2 separate regions of the Homo sapiens genome follow, and region 1 is linked to region 2. Evidence: promoter capture Hi-C in 16 types of primary human blood cells and fetal thymus (Javierre and others, 2016). All regions are on one chromosome and are shown on one strand. The core of a region is centred on a gene start or on the middle of the fragment in contact, and the rest is flanking DNA. Distances in the headings are between cores, read along the strand shown.

Region 1 (7,156 bases), core at 4,180-6,679, 930 kb after region 2:
ACGATGCTAGCATTGGCACTTAGACTCCTGTAGCCGTTTGTTTTCTTTCATGAACATACAGGTAAAAGGGCTTTGTCATGTCTGGCAGTCCTAGTGCTGGGGCCTGGATTGAAGCTTTCTTGATTTCCTTGAAAGCCATGTCCTGTTCTTTTCCCCAAAGGAGGGGCTCCTTTTCCCCTCCTTTGGTTGCCTCATATAAAGGCTTTGCTAGGAGCCAGTAGTCAGGAATCCATAATTGGCAAAAACCAGCTGCCCCTAGGAATTCCTGCACTTGCTGCCTTCTGTCTGGCTGAGGAATGCTACAGACAATCTCTTTTCGCTCCTGTCCAAGCTCACACCGTCCTTGGGAGAAGTAAAATCCAAGATACTGAACTCCTCAGCCACAGATCTGTGCCTTTTTCTTAGACACTTTATAGCCAGCTTCCCACAGCACTTGAAGGAGACTCTCTGTTCCTTGGATACATTATTTTCTTGTGGGTTTGGCTAACAGCAGATCATCTATATATTGCAGTAAGACAAGCGATCACTTGGTGGTGTGAAAGCCTTTAAGTCTGAGGCTAGTGCTTCTCCAAAGATAGTTGAGGAGTTTTTAAATCTTTGGGGAAGTCTAGTCCAGGTATACTGAGATGGGCCCCACTCAAAGGCAAAAATGTCTTGGCTTATAGGGGCTAATCAGATGCAGAAGAACACATCTTTAATGTCCAAGCATATGAACCAAAAATGTCTTGGCTTATAGGGGCTAATCAGATGCAGAAGAACACATCTTTAATGTCCAAGCATATGAACCAAGCAGCACTAGCAGGTATTTGTCCAAGCATAGTGTACAGGTTAGGCACAATAGCATGCAGTGTACTGGCTACCTTGTTGACTGTCCTTAAATCTTGTACAGGCTGGTAGTTGCCAGAAGGTTTTAACACCAGCAGTAGGGGAGTATTCCGTGAGGAGACACATCTCTCTATTATTCCAAATTCAGGGAGTCATTTTAAGTGTTTTGCAATCCCTTGGTGAGCCTCTATGGGAATGGGATACTGATGGATCCACACTGGGTAGATTCCTCGTAGTAGCTCTACTATGACAGGTGCTTGATTTACTGCTAACCCTGGGGGATTGTCCTCCACCCAGACTCCTGGTAACTTAGGGAGTAAGTCTGTGAACAGTTTTTCTTTCTCAGCTGTACTCCTTTCCACACTCCTGACAACTACTTTCATAAAGTCTCCACTCCTCTGCCTTGGGTACTGTAAGAGTTAGTACCATAGCCTTCTTTTGCCCTAGGCTCAAGGTATATCTGCATTCAGTGTGAAGGAGATTTGAGCCTGCAGCTTCTGCAACAAGTCTCTCCCAACAACGGCACTGGGCAGTTTGGCAAGTATAAGAACTTGTGTTGGACTTCTTGGTTTCCAATTATACCTCTCTTTGATGTGAAAAAAGGTGTTTTTTCTGTGATACCTGTGGCCCCAATAATATTAGCATAGAGTTTTGATAACACCCTAATTGTTTGAGTCACAGCTGAGTGTTCAGCACCTGTGTCTACCATAAGGTCTATTTTTCGGCCCCCTACTACCATTGAGACCATGGGCTCCTCAGGGCCTAATGAGATGTAGCCCAGTCTGTCTCAGTCTTCAAGGTAGTCACTGACTCCTGCCAGCCCAATTAGATCCACATCGCATCCTACTATGCCCTGCCCAGCAGCAGAAGGAGGCCTTGTCCAGCCATTCTGTCCCTGCTTGTAGCCTTTATTCTTTTCTTTCTCTGGACATTCATCTTTCCAATGCCCTCTTTGCTTGCATCTCGCACATTGATTTCTCTCTAGTCTAGGCCAACCTTCCTGACCTGTCCTGGTCTCCTGACCTGGCCTAGCCCTAGCTTGTCCTTTACCATGACTGCATCCACGACCATGTCCATGTCCTCTTGCAAATCCAGCCTCTCTTTCAATCAGGGCTGCAGCCAAGAACTCTGCCTTTTCCTTCACTCTATGCTTGGCCTCCCACTTTGCTTCTTCATCTTGATTTACAAACACTTTAGTTGCCACTTGGATAAGCTGGGAAATGTTCATAACTTCAAACCCCTCCAGCTTCTGCAACTTTCACTTAATGTCATTTTGTGCCTGACTCACAAATGCCGCATTAACCATGCACTGATTCCCTGCCACTTCTGGGTCAAAAGGTGTGTAGAGCCGGTAAGCCTCACAAAGCTTCTCATAGAACTCACTGGTACTTTCATCTGGTTTCTGATGGACCTCTGAAACCTTTCCAGTGTTTGTTGCCTTTTTCCCTCCAGCTTTTATTCCTTGTATCAGAGCCCCTTGGTATCTCAGCAAGTTCAGCAGCCCTTAGGCCTGATTTGGGTCCCAGCCTGGGTCAGTTTCTATTGGCAAAGCCTGCTGAGCATACTTTCTGACATCTCCTGTGCCTACTGGAGCATTGCTTTCTAGTCACTGATAAGCCACTTGTATTACTCTGCAGTGTTTTTCTGTATTGAACAGTGACAGAAGGAACTGCTTGCAGTCAGCCCAGGTTGGGTTGTGAGTTAAGAAGATGGACTGCATCAGGTCGATAAGAGCCTGGGGTTTTTCTGTATAGGAGGGAGTATGCTGTTTCCAGTTGAAAATATCTGTAGTAGAGAAGGGCTGATAAACATAAAGCCGTTCTCCTCCTTGAACCTCATTTTGTGCATCTAAATAGATCTGTCCCCTAGGTTCTCTGAATGGCATCTGCAAAGCTCGGGCGTGTCCTGACCGGAGATGGCCGTCATACTGGAGTTCCTCCTTTGAATTATCGGGCAGTGACCCTGGCTCTTCCCTATGTGGTGAAGTTTGAAGGGTACTCTCCTCTGAGTCTGACCCTCCACAGGCAGCTGCTGGAGTGACTTCCTGCCTAAGCCTTGCCAGAGGCGGATAAATTGGAACATAAGGGGATGGAGTCTCTAGCTCTTCTAGTGGGGCCTGTAGGACAGGTTTTTCCTGTTTTCCTTGCTGTTCTTTCTCCTGGGCCTACACTTTGTGGGTCTTTTCTATGGTTCCTTGTTTTGTACGAGCCACCAGAGTCTTACAATAATTTTCAAAACAGGCCTGTAGCCATTTCAGATGGGTTTGAATCACGCTCAGCTAGGAGTCTATGTATGGGAACTGATCAGGTTGTCCAGGCTGTTCTCCAACCCCAGTGACCACCCTAAATACTCGGCCAATTATTTCCCTATCTATGGTTCCCTTGGCCGCCCTCCCTATGTTGAAGGAGAGGCAGTCAATTTCACAAAGTGTTCTTAGCCTCTGCGGTGTTAACTTCATTCCATAATCACCATCAGAGCCTTTCTTAAAGTTCTTCAACATATGTTCTAATGGAGTTGGCTTCAATACTTTTCCTCCTATTGCCTCCCTCGTGGCACACTTTCACTCTCACTTTCACTCTTGGATGCACCAGACAGGGTCCTATTACAGGAGGTTTGGATGCTGCTTGGCCAGGTCACAGCCAACTACTGCTGTGAAGCTACCATGAAGTGAATCTTGTCGGTCTTATGCAGTGACCTAGGTCTGGCTTGTCCCACACTCACCTTGAGGGACACAGTCTGCACTAAGATCTGCAACTCCCCACATCACTCCCCGTGTTGGCTTCTCCGAGACCACCTCTTTCACACACTTTCACACACCTCCCCTGCCCCAGGACTCCTCATCGGATGAAACAAGCCTCTCTCATGTCCCGAGTGAGCTTAGTTAGGCTTCCACATTCACACACATACACAAACCACTCCTACCCCAGGACTGATCAGATGAAAGAAGCCTTCTTTATGTCCCGAGTAGGTTCACACACACCAAAACACTCCCAGTTTCTGTCTCCAGATCCAGTGAACCACTTTTGCTTGTGTGGGGACACGAGATTCATCCAAATTGGCAGGCCACTCCTGCTGCCCCCAGCCACTCTGGGTTGGATAAGTGATCGTTCCGGGGAAGGTAATCAAGCTCCCCTTCTGTCCTTATGGGATGGGCTTTTCCAGGGCCCAACCTTATGGCGGTTCAGTAGTCTGCCAGCGCACTGCTCCTGTGACTGTCCTGCAACTCCTGAGTCGGTTCCGTTTGCGCTGTCAGGGCGAGGCTCCAATACATGGGAGCCGTTCTCCTTCTGGGCTAAGTCTTCCCCAGTGGCACCAAAGTTCCCAAATCTCCCGCGTCCTGTGGCTTTAGCCCACAGGCAAAGGAGACAGAAACCTGCCATCTCCAATCCCAGACAGGCCCCCAGAAATGTTATGGGACAATCAGAGACGGGAGAGACTGAAGAGAGTTCAGGAAAGCCTTTATTAAGGGGATCACCTGGCTCAGTAGGACTAGCGTCCAGGAAAGTCTGAGCCCTGGAGAAAGAATGCAGCCACCTTTTAAGCAGTCAGTGGCCGGGAGCTATGTGATTCATGAAGTCTACTTACACAAGCGAGAACAAAGGCAGTTGATCAGTCTTTTACATTTATCTATACTACATGTTCCACATCCTTGGGAAACTATGTTTCTGTAACATATGCATATCAACCTTGTAACTTTGCAGCTGTGCTAGGGAGGTGCGCAGGAACTCACTGAGCCTCAAGGAATGTGAAACTGGTGAGAACAGATAAGGCTCACAACACAGAAAGAAAAACAGGCAGTTAGTATTCTTCTGTAACTTAGACTATGGGCAGGGGGTGCTACACTACACTTAGCTTTTGAAGGAAAAAGTAAAAATTTCTTGGTGGTCTTTGATTATACTTGTAAAATTCATGAATTCCTTCTTCAGTGGAGGTTGCAGTGAGTCGAGATCATGCCACTGTGCTCCAGCCTGGTGACAGAGCTAGACTCCGTCTAAAAAAAAAAAAAAGTATTTGTAACATTGGCATACAATTTACATACAAAATTTACTCCTTTAAAAGTGTGTAATTCAATAATTATAGTCACAAAGTTACACAACCATCACCACTATCTAATTCCAGAACATGTTGATCACCCTCCAGCTTCTTTTAGCTCTCCCAGAACTCTCCACATTGATCCCACTCTGGCTACTAGCACCAGCTGGACAGTAACGACTTTCAGAGGTGAACACAATGTGCTTCAACATGCCTTCCTGAAAGTTCAGTTAGCAACTGGACAGCATCTGAATTCCAGTTCTGCAAAGCTCTTCTCTGAATACCTGAGGTACCAGCATGATCCTGGCACTGCCCCTGCCTCCGCTGTCTTGTCTAATTCTAGCTCTCTGGGGCCACTCTTGTGAGTTTCTAGGTTCCGAGAACCTTAATCTTTTCCATTGTTTCCCAGCCCTAGACAGGTAGCTGCTACCTGATGTTGTCATCCTGTGTTAGCTCAGTGTTCATTTTTACCATTAAAACACCTGCTTTAAATAATCTTCATCAAATTCTCTCAGTTGTAATACTTGAGTGATCTCTCTGTTACCATTTGAACTCTGATTGATTTAAATATACTTGCACATATATCAACAATAATTTATTATTACAAAGTCATATAAGTGGAATTATAATATTATAAGTCCTTTAACGTTTAATTAAAATGCCAAGAACGTACATTGTGTAAAGGGCCACCTGTTCAATAAATTGTGCTGGGAAAACTGGATATCCATATGCAGAAGGACAAAACTTGATCCCTACCTGTCACCGTATACAAAAATCAACTCAAAATGGATTAAAGACTTAAACATAAGACCAAAACTGTAAACATACTAGAAGAAAACCTAGAGCAAACTCTTCAGGGCATTGGCCTAGGCAAAAGTTTTATGACTAAGACTTAGAAAGCACAGACAGGGCCAGGCATGGTGATGCACTCCTAGTACTTTGGGAGGCCAAGGTGGGTGGATCACAAGGTCAGGAGATTGAGGCCAACATGGTGAAAACCCATCTCTACTAAAAATACACACACACACACAAATTAGCTGGGTGTGGTGGTGCACACTTGTAATCCCAGCTACTTGGGAGGCTGAGGCAGGAGAATTGCTTGAACCCAGGAGGCAGAGATTGCAGTGAGCCAGGTTGAAGCCAATGCACTCCAGCCTGGCAACACAGTGAGACTCCATCTCAAAAAAAAAAAAAAAAAAAAAAAAAAAGCACAGACAGGCCAGGCATAGTGGTGTACACCTGTAATCCTAGCACTTTGGGAGGGTGAGGTGGGCAGATTCTTGAGCACAGGAGTTCGAGACCAGCCTGGGCAACATGGTGAATCCCCATCTCTACTACAAATACAGAATTTAGCCAGGCATGCTGGTGGGCACCTGTAATCCCAGCTGCTCGGGAGGCTGAGGCAGGAGGATCACTTGAGCCCAGGAGGTAGAGGCTACAGTGAGCTATAATCACACCACTGCACTCCAGCCTGTGCAACAGGGTGAGACTCTGTCTCAAAATAAACAAACAAACAAAAGCACAGACAACAACAACAAAAAGAAGTGGGACTGTATTAAACTAAAAAGCTGCACAGCAAAGGAAACAATTATGGAAGTGAAGAGACAACTTGTAGAATGGTAGGGAATACTTGCAAACTATTTATCCAAAAGGGACAAATATCCTGAATATACAAATAACTCAAACAACTCGATGGCAAAAACAAAAACAAAAGTAATCTGATTAAAATGCAGGCAAAGGATCTGAATAATTATTTCTTAAAAGAAGACATACAAATGGCTAACAAATGTATGAAAAATGTCCAGCATCACTAATCATCAGGGAAATGCCAATCAAAATCACAATGAGGCATCATCTCACCCTAGTTAGAATGTCTATTATAAGAAAAATAAATAAGTGCTGGTAAGGATGCATAGAAAAGGGAACTCTTAGACACTGTTGGTGGGAATGTAAATTGGTACAACCACTATATAAAACAGTGTGGAGGTTTCTTAAAAAATAAAACGGAACTACCATACAATCCAACAATCACACTGCTGGGCACATATCCAAAGGAAGGGAAATCCATATATCAAAGGGATACCTGCACTCCTGTGTTTATAGCAACACTATTCACAATAGCCAAAATATAATATCAACCTAAACGTCCACCAACACATCAATGGAAAAAGAAAATCTGGTATATAAACACAGTGGAATATTACTCTGCTATAAAAATGAAATCCTGTCATTTGCCACAACATGGATAGGCCTGGATGTCATTAAGTGAAATAAGTCAGACACAGAAAGATAATTACTG
Region 2 (6,613 bases), core at 2,721-5,220:
TTTATAGTAAAAACACAAATAATCCAGTTTAAAAATGGACAAAAGAGATCCGAATAAACATTTCTCAAAAGAAGACATAAAATTGCTAACAGGTATATAAAAGAATGTTAAACATCACTAATCATGAGAAAAATGCAAATCAAAAGCACAATGAGCTATCTTCTCACCACAGTTAAAATGACTTTTATCTGAAAAACAGGGAATAACAGATGCTGGCGAGGATTTGGAGAAAGGGGAATCATTGTACACTGTTGATGGGAATGTAAATTAGTACAACCACTATGGAGAACAGTATGGAGGCTCCTCAGAAAACTAAAAATAGAATTACCATATGATCCAGCAAATCCACTACTGGGTATATATCCCAAAGAAAAGGAATCAATATACTAAAGAGCTATCTGCATTCCCATGTTTACTGCAACAATATTCACAATATCCAAAATATGGAATCAACCTAAGTGGCCATCAATGGATGAATGGATAAAGAAATGTGGTGTATGTACATAACGGAATATTATTCAGTCATAAACAAGAATGAAATCCTGTCATTTGCAGCAATATGGGTGGAACTAGAGGCCATGATGTTAAGTAAATAAGCCAAGCACAAAAAGACAAATATTGCATATTCTCACTCATACGTGGGAGCTAAACAAAAAAACAAGTGGATTTCATGAAGATAGAGAGTAGATTGGTGGTAACCAGAGTTCAGAAAGAGTAGAGGTAGGGGTCTGAATAGAGGCTGGTTAAGGGGTATGTATTAGTCTTTTTTCACACTGCTATAAAAAAATGCCTGAGACTGGGTAATTTATAAAGAAAAGAGGTTTAATTGACTCACACTTCCACATGGCTGGGGAGGCCTCAGGAAACTTACAATCATGTTGGAAGAAGAAGCAGTCACCTTCTTCACAAGGTGGCAGGAGAGAGAAGAACAAAGGAGGAACTTCCAAACATATCTCACAAACCATCAGATCTTGTGAGAGCTCACTCACTGTCATGAGAACACCATGGGGGAAACTGCCCCTTGTGATCCAATCACCTCCCTCCCTCCACTTGTGGGAATTACAGGTCCCTCCCTCAACACGTGGGAATTACAATTCAAGATGAGATTTGGGTGGGGACACAGAGCCAAAACATACCAAGGTGTAATACACAGTTAGACAGAAAAAATAAGACCTGGTGTTCAATAAACCAGTAGGTTAGCTATGGTTAACATTAACCTACTGTACATTTCAAAATAGCCAGAAGAGAATCATTTGAATATTTCCGGCATACAGAAAAGACAAATACTTGGCGATAGATATCCCAATTTCCCTGCTTTGATCTTTACACATAATATTAATCAAATTATCACATGTACCCCCAAAATATGTGCATCTATTATATACCAATTTTTAAAATTAAGTTAAAAATTAAATTTTGGGTTTTGCATGTGAAAAAAGAGAGAATATGGGAGAAAAGAAATTGGAAACATCCCTTAGGGACAATTTTTTTAGGAGTTTTGCTGTAAAGCAAAGCAGAGAAATGAGGTAGTGGCTGGAGAGAAATAGGGTGCAAGGTAAGGGGTTTTATTTATTTTATGGACAATATTACAGTGTATTCATTAGTATGCTGATAATTCAGTACAGAATGAAAATCTTGAAATACAGAAGAGAGAGAAGGACCTCATTCATGAGAAAGCATTTAACATCCAGGGTGCAAAAGAATTTTCTCATATAGGAACTAGGGCCAGTGACTCAGAATGAAAAGTAGAGCATACAGTTTCTAATGCAGAGAGGAGGGCAGATGTGCCTGTGAGGCGGTATAGAAGTTCTCTTTACTCAGTAACAGAAAGCAAAGTCATCAGCACTCAGTGAGATGGGAGGAGTTGTTGGCGGCTTGAAAAGAGAGTAGAAGACCAGGCATGGTGGCTCAGCCTGTAATCCCAGCACTTTGGGAGGCTGAGGTGGGACGATCGCTTGATCCCAGGAGGTGGAGACCAGCCCGAACAACATGGTGAAACTTCATCTCTTAAAAAAAAAAATACAAAAATTAGCCTGGTGTGGTGGCGCAAGCCTATAGTCCCAGCTACTTAGGAGGCTGAGGTGGGAGGGTTGCTTGTGCCCAGGAAGCAGAGATTGCAGTCAGCCAAGATCGCACTACTGAACTCCAGCCTGGCTCAAAAAAATAAATAAATAAATAATGAAAAGAGAGTAGAACCTGTGAAATAGTCATTTAGGAGAATGGATGGACTAAGAAATGTAGAAGGATAGCCAGGCAGCGTGAAGGGCCCACTTGAACTTAATGGTTATAAACTGAAAATGAAACCAATCATCCCAGCCATGTGGTTTTCTCAAACAACCTCTGCCGTACAGGCGCAGGCCAGGAACTGGATTCAAGCAGATTTGGGTTTCCATCAAGAGAATAAAACCAAGAAAGACTGGGACAAGAGAGTTAAGGGTAACGGCACATACACAGGACTGGCCATAACCATGCTCCATGGCCTCTTAAATTGAGTGAGGAGAGAAGTGAGCACATGAGGAAGTGAAGGTCAGGGCAAGGGTGGTAAATCTAAATAGGGAAAAGCTCTGTGGTTTTCCAATGAAGAATGAGGAGAGGAGTAAGGTCCAAGGGAGACATTTTGTGTTCCCCAGGCAAAAGGTAAGACAGCATCTCTGAGGAGGAGACCGAAGGGGACGTGGGCCTCTCCAAGCATCGCAGGCTGAAAATAATAGTCCCCCAAATATGTCCATGTCCTAACCCCCAGAAGCTGTGGATGTTAATTTCTATGGCAAGAGGGATTTTTTTTGAAATGTGATTAAATTAAGGATCTTGACGTCAAGAGATTATCCCAGATTAGCCAGCTGGGCCTGATGTAATCACAACAGTCGTTATTAGAAGGACCCACGAGGAGCCAGTGCCTGAGCATGTGATGTGATGATGAAGGCAGAGGTTGCAGTCATGCACTTTGAAGATAAAGGAGCGAGCCATAAGCCAAGGAATGCAAATAGTCACTGGGAACTGGAAAAGGCAAAGAAATATTCTCATCTAGAACCTCCAGGAGGAACTAGCCCCACCAACACTGACTTTATAAAGCCCAGTAAAACTTGATTTCAGACTTGGCACCTCCAGAAGTTTAAGAGAATACATGTTTGTTATACTACTAAGTTTGTGTTAATTTGTTGTGACAGCAATTGGAAACTAATACACCAAGGAAGGGGGAGGATGTAGAAGAGAGGTCCAGGCAACATCTCTTTCCTCTCCAAAATAAATCTGAAAGAAAGGAATTGGGAAAAGACCAAATGGGTAGCTCTGTGTCACTCGGTGAGAAGTGAAATAAACGTAAAATCCTGGTATCAACAACCCTTGTGTGCGTTTAGGAGAGTTCTGACTGCTGGGAGCCACTTGTCTAATTCCCTCACCTCCTGTGTTTGTTCCAAGATCCCCTATTTAAAATTGCAAAGTACACCTCCAGTCCTACACACCCACAAACGCACCTCGCCACACCCCGCCCAGCTCTATGCTTTCAGTACCACCTCATGACACACACGACGCCATATATTTACTATATTTATGGATTGCTTGTTTCCCCAACTAGAATAGGGCAGTGACTTTTGTGCAAGCATCTTGAACAGCTCCTGGTACACAGTTGGCTCTCAATTAATATCTGTTAAATGGATGAACTTCAGAGGTGAGATGGAAGATGCCGAATGGCAAATATTCACTTCAGAATGTTTTGAAAGGTAAAGATGAAATTATGGGTATTTACATCCTTTTCCCCCAATAGTATTTTAACAAATGAAAATCACCTTAACAGGTATTCCTAAAATAATTCTTATTTGTTTGTAATAAAAAACGAGGAGGAGGACTTGAATACACGCGTCGCTGACTCAAAGATGGTCCCCTCCGCCCAAGAATCCCGCTCCGCACAGCGCAGAGTTCAGGGGCCCGCGCCGGAAGTGGGCGTGGTTCGCCCGCGGCTTGCTGGGACTTGTATTTCGGGGCCCTAGGCGCGCGAGCGGTCAGCATCCGGAATCTGGCCCCTGCAGGCGTGGGGTTCCACGTGGGAGGTGAGACTGGCCGGGCTTCCCCAGCCGCTGGCAGAGGCGTTCAGGGGTCAGGAAATGGGTGTGCCGCGGGTAAGGCGCTGGGCCGCCGAGCTGCGGAAGCCGGGAGGGCGGCGATGGTAGGGCACGCGACCAGCGGAGGCGCGGCCCGCGGCGGCACGTGTGTCCCGGCGCCGCATTTCCGAGCTGCTGCGCCCCCGGGGCCGGGCTGCGGCCACACCGAAGCCTGTGGGGCCCTGCAGCTGAGCGGCCGCGCCTCCGATGGCCCCTCCTCCCTCCTGGCCGAGCTCTGGCCTGGGCCGGCTGGGGGCTTCGTGGTTGGCCACGCCGGCCTTTTCCTCGCCTGTGACGGGCGTTATTGCAGGGGGGTTTTCGGTGGACGTTAGGCGACGGACGGGGGCTCCTGTAAGAGACTGAGGTTTCTGTCCGCAGCACTGCCTTCGCTGAAAAGAGCTTGCATCTGAGCCCCCGCACCGCAGGAACGAGCCAGGCTCCTGAGAATGAGGTCGGGGAAGGCGTCTTGGGCAACCGAAATCCATCCCGAGAAGCTTCTCCTCTTAACTAGAACTTTAGGACAGAGATCGGGAAAGTCAGAGGAAATGGGCACGGCTTCGAGCTGCCGGCGGCTGCGGAATTTACCTAGCCTCTTGGTTTTGGGGGGAAAACTTGGCTTGTTTAATCGAAAGCCCTGTGGAGAGAGATGAAGGTGGTGACAGAAAATGCTTCACCTCTCACCTGATGGAGGGAGTGTGGGTGGAAGTGACTGAAGAAGCGTCAGAGGCAGGAGCGGAGTAACTTTTTCCCCGCAGTCTTGCTGGACTTGATTTTCATGGCTTTTTCTCTTTCCCTAACTCTGCCTTTCCAGGAATCCATCCCCTCTGGGAGTAAGAAATGACCAGGGTCCGGGTGAGTTGGCGTTCCATTTCTCCTAAAATGCCATCTCCCTGAAATGTCCCTGTGCCATGTGTTGTTTTCTTTATTGTCAGGCCCCCAGTACGGTATTTTATAGCTATGGATGTAGGGACATTAAGATACTAAGGACATGTAGCTAGCAGATGATGTCACCAGGGTCTGCACAGAGAGTTTTCACTGGCCCATCCTGCCTCCAAGAATTTATTCCACTCCTCAGAGCAGTGGGCTGTGCCCTCCTGGGGAGCCTCTCAAAGCCTGCCTTTTCCTGCCAGACATTTCACTCACATTGAAAGTCATTCCAAGCTATTCCATACTCATCCCAGTGCTAAGTGGTCTCAGCAAAACAGATAGAATGATAAACCACGGTGCTTTTCTTCAAGGAGCTTACCATCTTGATGAACATATTATATTACCTGTACACAAAAAAATGCATATTAATAGTGATAATTTATTAACTATGAGTCAAAAACGAGGAAATTCGTTAAATGGCAGCACAGTGGTTACAAAATCACTCTAGAAATGCTTTTCAACTAGGCTATGCATCAGAACTCTCTGTGGTGTTTTTTAAGAACTAAGCTTCCTTCTCTCTTCCAGACCTAGTGAAAGGAGAGTTTCACTCCTTTTTTATTCTGTTGATCTTTGTACATCCAAAGGTTTATTGTGAAATATCTCTCTATACACTATAAGTGTCTCTAGGGTAGGTAAAATGAGTTATTCATCCTTTATACTCAGGTTGATTTGTTCTCTTTCACTAGCATGTCTACATATTTAACTGTTCCAGTAAATTTTAAATTACCAAGTCGTACTTTTTTAAAGAGAGTTTTCAGTTGTCCCCATAAAACCATCTGTAGGAGGTTACCTCAAAATTAACCCTTAGACTCCCAGGGTATTTGAGATGGTCAGCCCCCACTTAGAATCCCATGGTGTTTGAGATGGTCGGCCCCCTCTTTGCCCTGTCCTGGCGTTTTATGGTGGAGAGCTCTAACTCGGCTAACTCTGAGAGAGCCGAAGGAAAGTGCCTTGTCCTTTGTTTCAGAGAGCAGAAGGCCAGAAATAAACCCCGTGTTTTCTTCCTTCAGGCTGTTCTTTCTCCATTAACTAAACAGGTCATCACATCAGAAGTTGTTTGAATAAAATATCAGACTGCGTTTTAAGGGAAAAAAAATGTTTTTTAACACTACCAGCAAAGGCCATCTTTTTGCTTGGCAAATACAGCCCTCACACACATGAGCTCTTAGAAAAAATCTGTTTAGAGGACAGTAAGCTGACTTGAGGTACTGAGAGCATGGCTTCTCTGTGCCCTGAAAAGTAATTGAGGACTTCAAGGGAGATTAACCTTAGTAGAATCAATACATTTTCCTTCCTTCGCTTCTGCCTGCTCCCTAATGATTAAGTATTCACTGCCGCTGCAACTGGGGATTGCCAGTTTAGTAAATTTTGAGATTCTGGTGTGTGTTACACAACAACTTTTTTAATTTAAAGGAAGGACTTCATTCCAAGCATTGTGTGTTTTCTATGTACCACACATTGTCCTTAGGTCTGCTGAAAGGCGGGAGTCTTAGTTAACCCTGCTTTTCCTCTGTGACATTGGGTAAGTCACTTCGCCCTTATGAACTGTGGTTTTTTTCTCTGTAAACTGAGGGTCTTGGGCTTGACCA

Evidence for each region. The method cuts DNA at HindIII sites, captures the fragments that hold promoters and counts their contacts. A CHiCAGO score of 5 or more calls a contact.
Region 1: a fragment that was not itself captured here is called in contact with the fragment with the promoter of ZNF239 in region 2 in 1 of 17 cell types (non-activated CD4 T cells); the score reaches 5.4 in non-activated CD4 T cells.

Annotation. Positions count from the first base shown.
Region 1 is chr10:42,642,653-42,649,808 of GRCh38, reverse strand. LOC105378268 (a long non-coding RNA gene) reads right to left here. Exons shown (of 2, transcript XR_945898.3): 2 at 4,267-4,816. Among named protein-coding and RNA genes, the nearest start is that of ZNF33B, 7.7 kb to the right of the region's middle. The HindIII fragment of the contact is 6,471 bases long and covers 2,194-7,156 here.
Region 2 is chr10:43,571,973-43,578,585 of GRCh38, reverse strand. ZNF239 (zinc finger protein 239) reads left to right here and starts at 3,970. Exons shown (of 4, transcript NM_001099282.2): 1 at 3,970-4,046; 2 at 4,909-4,949. RefSeq lists a silencer at 4,188-4,247. The HindIII fragment of the contact is 4,716 bases long and covers 1-4,593 here.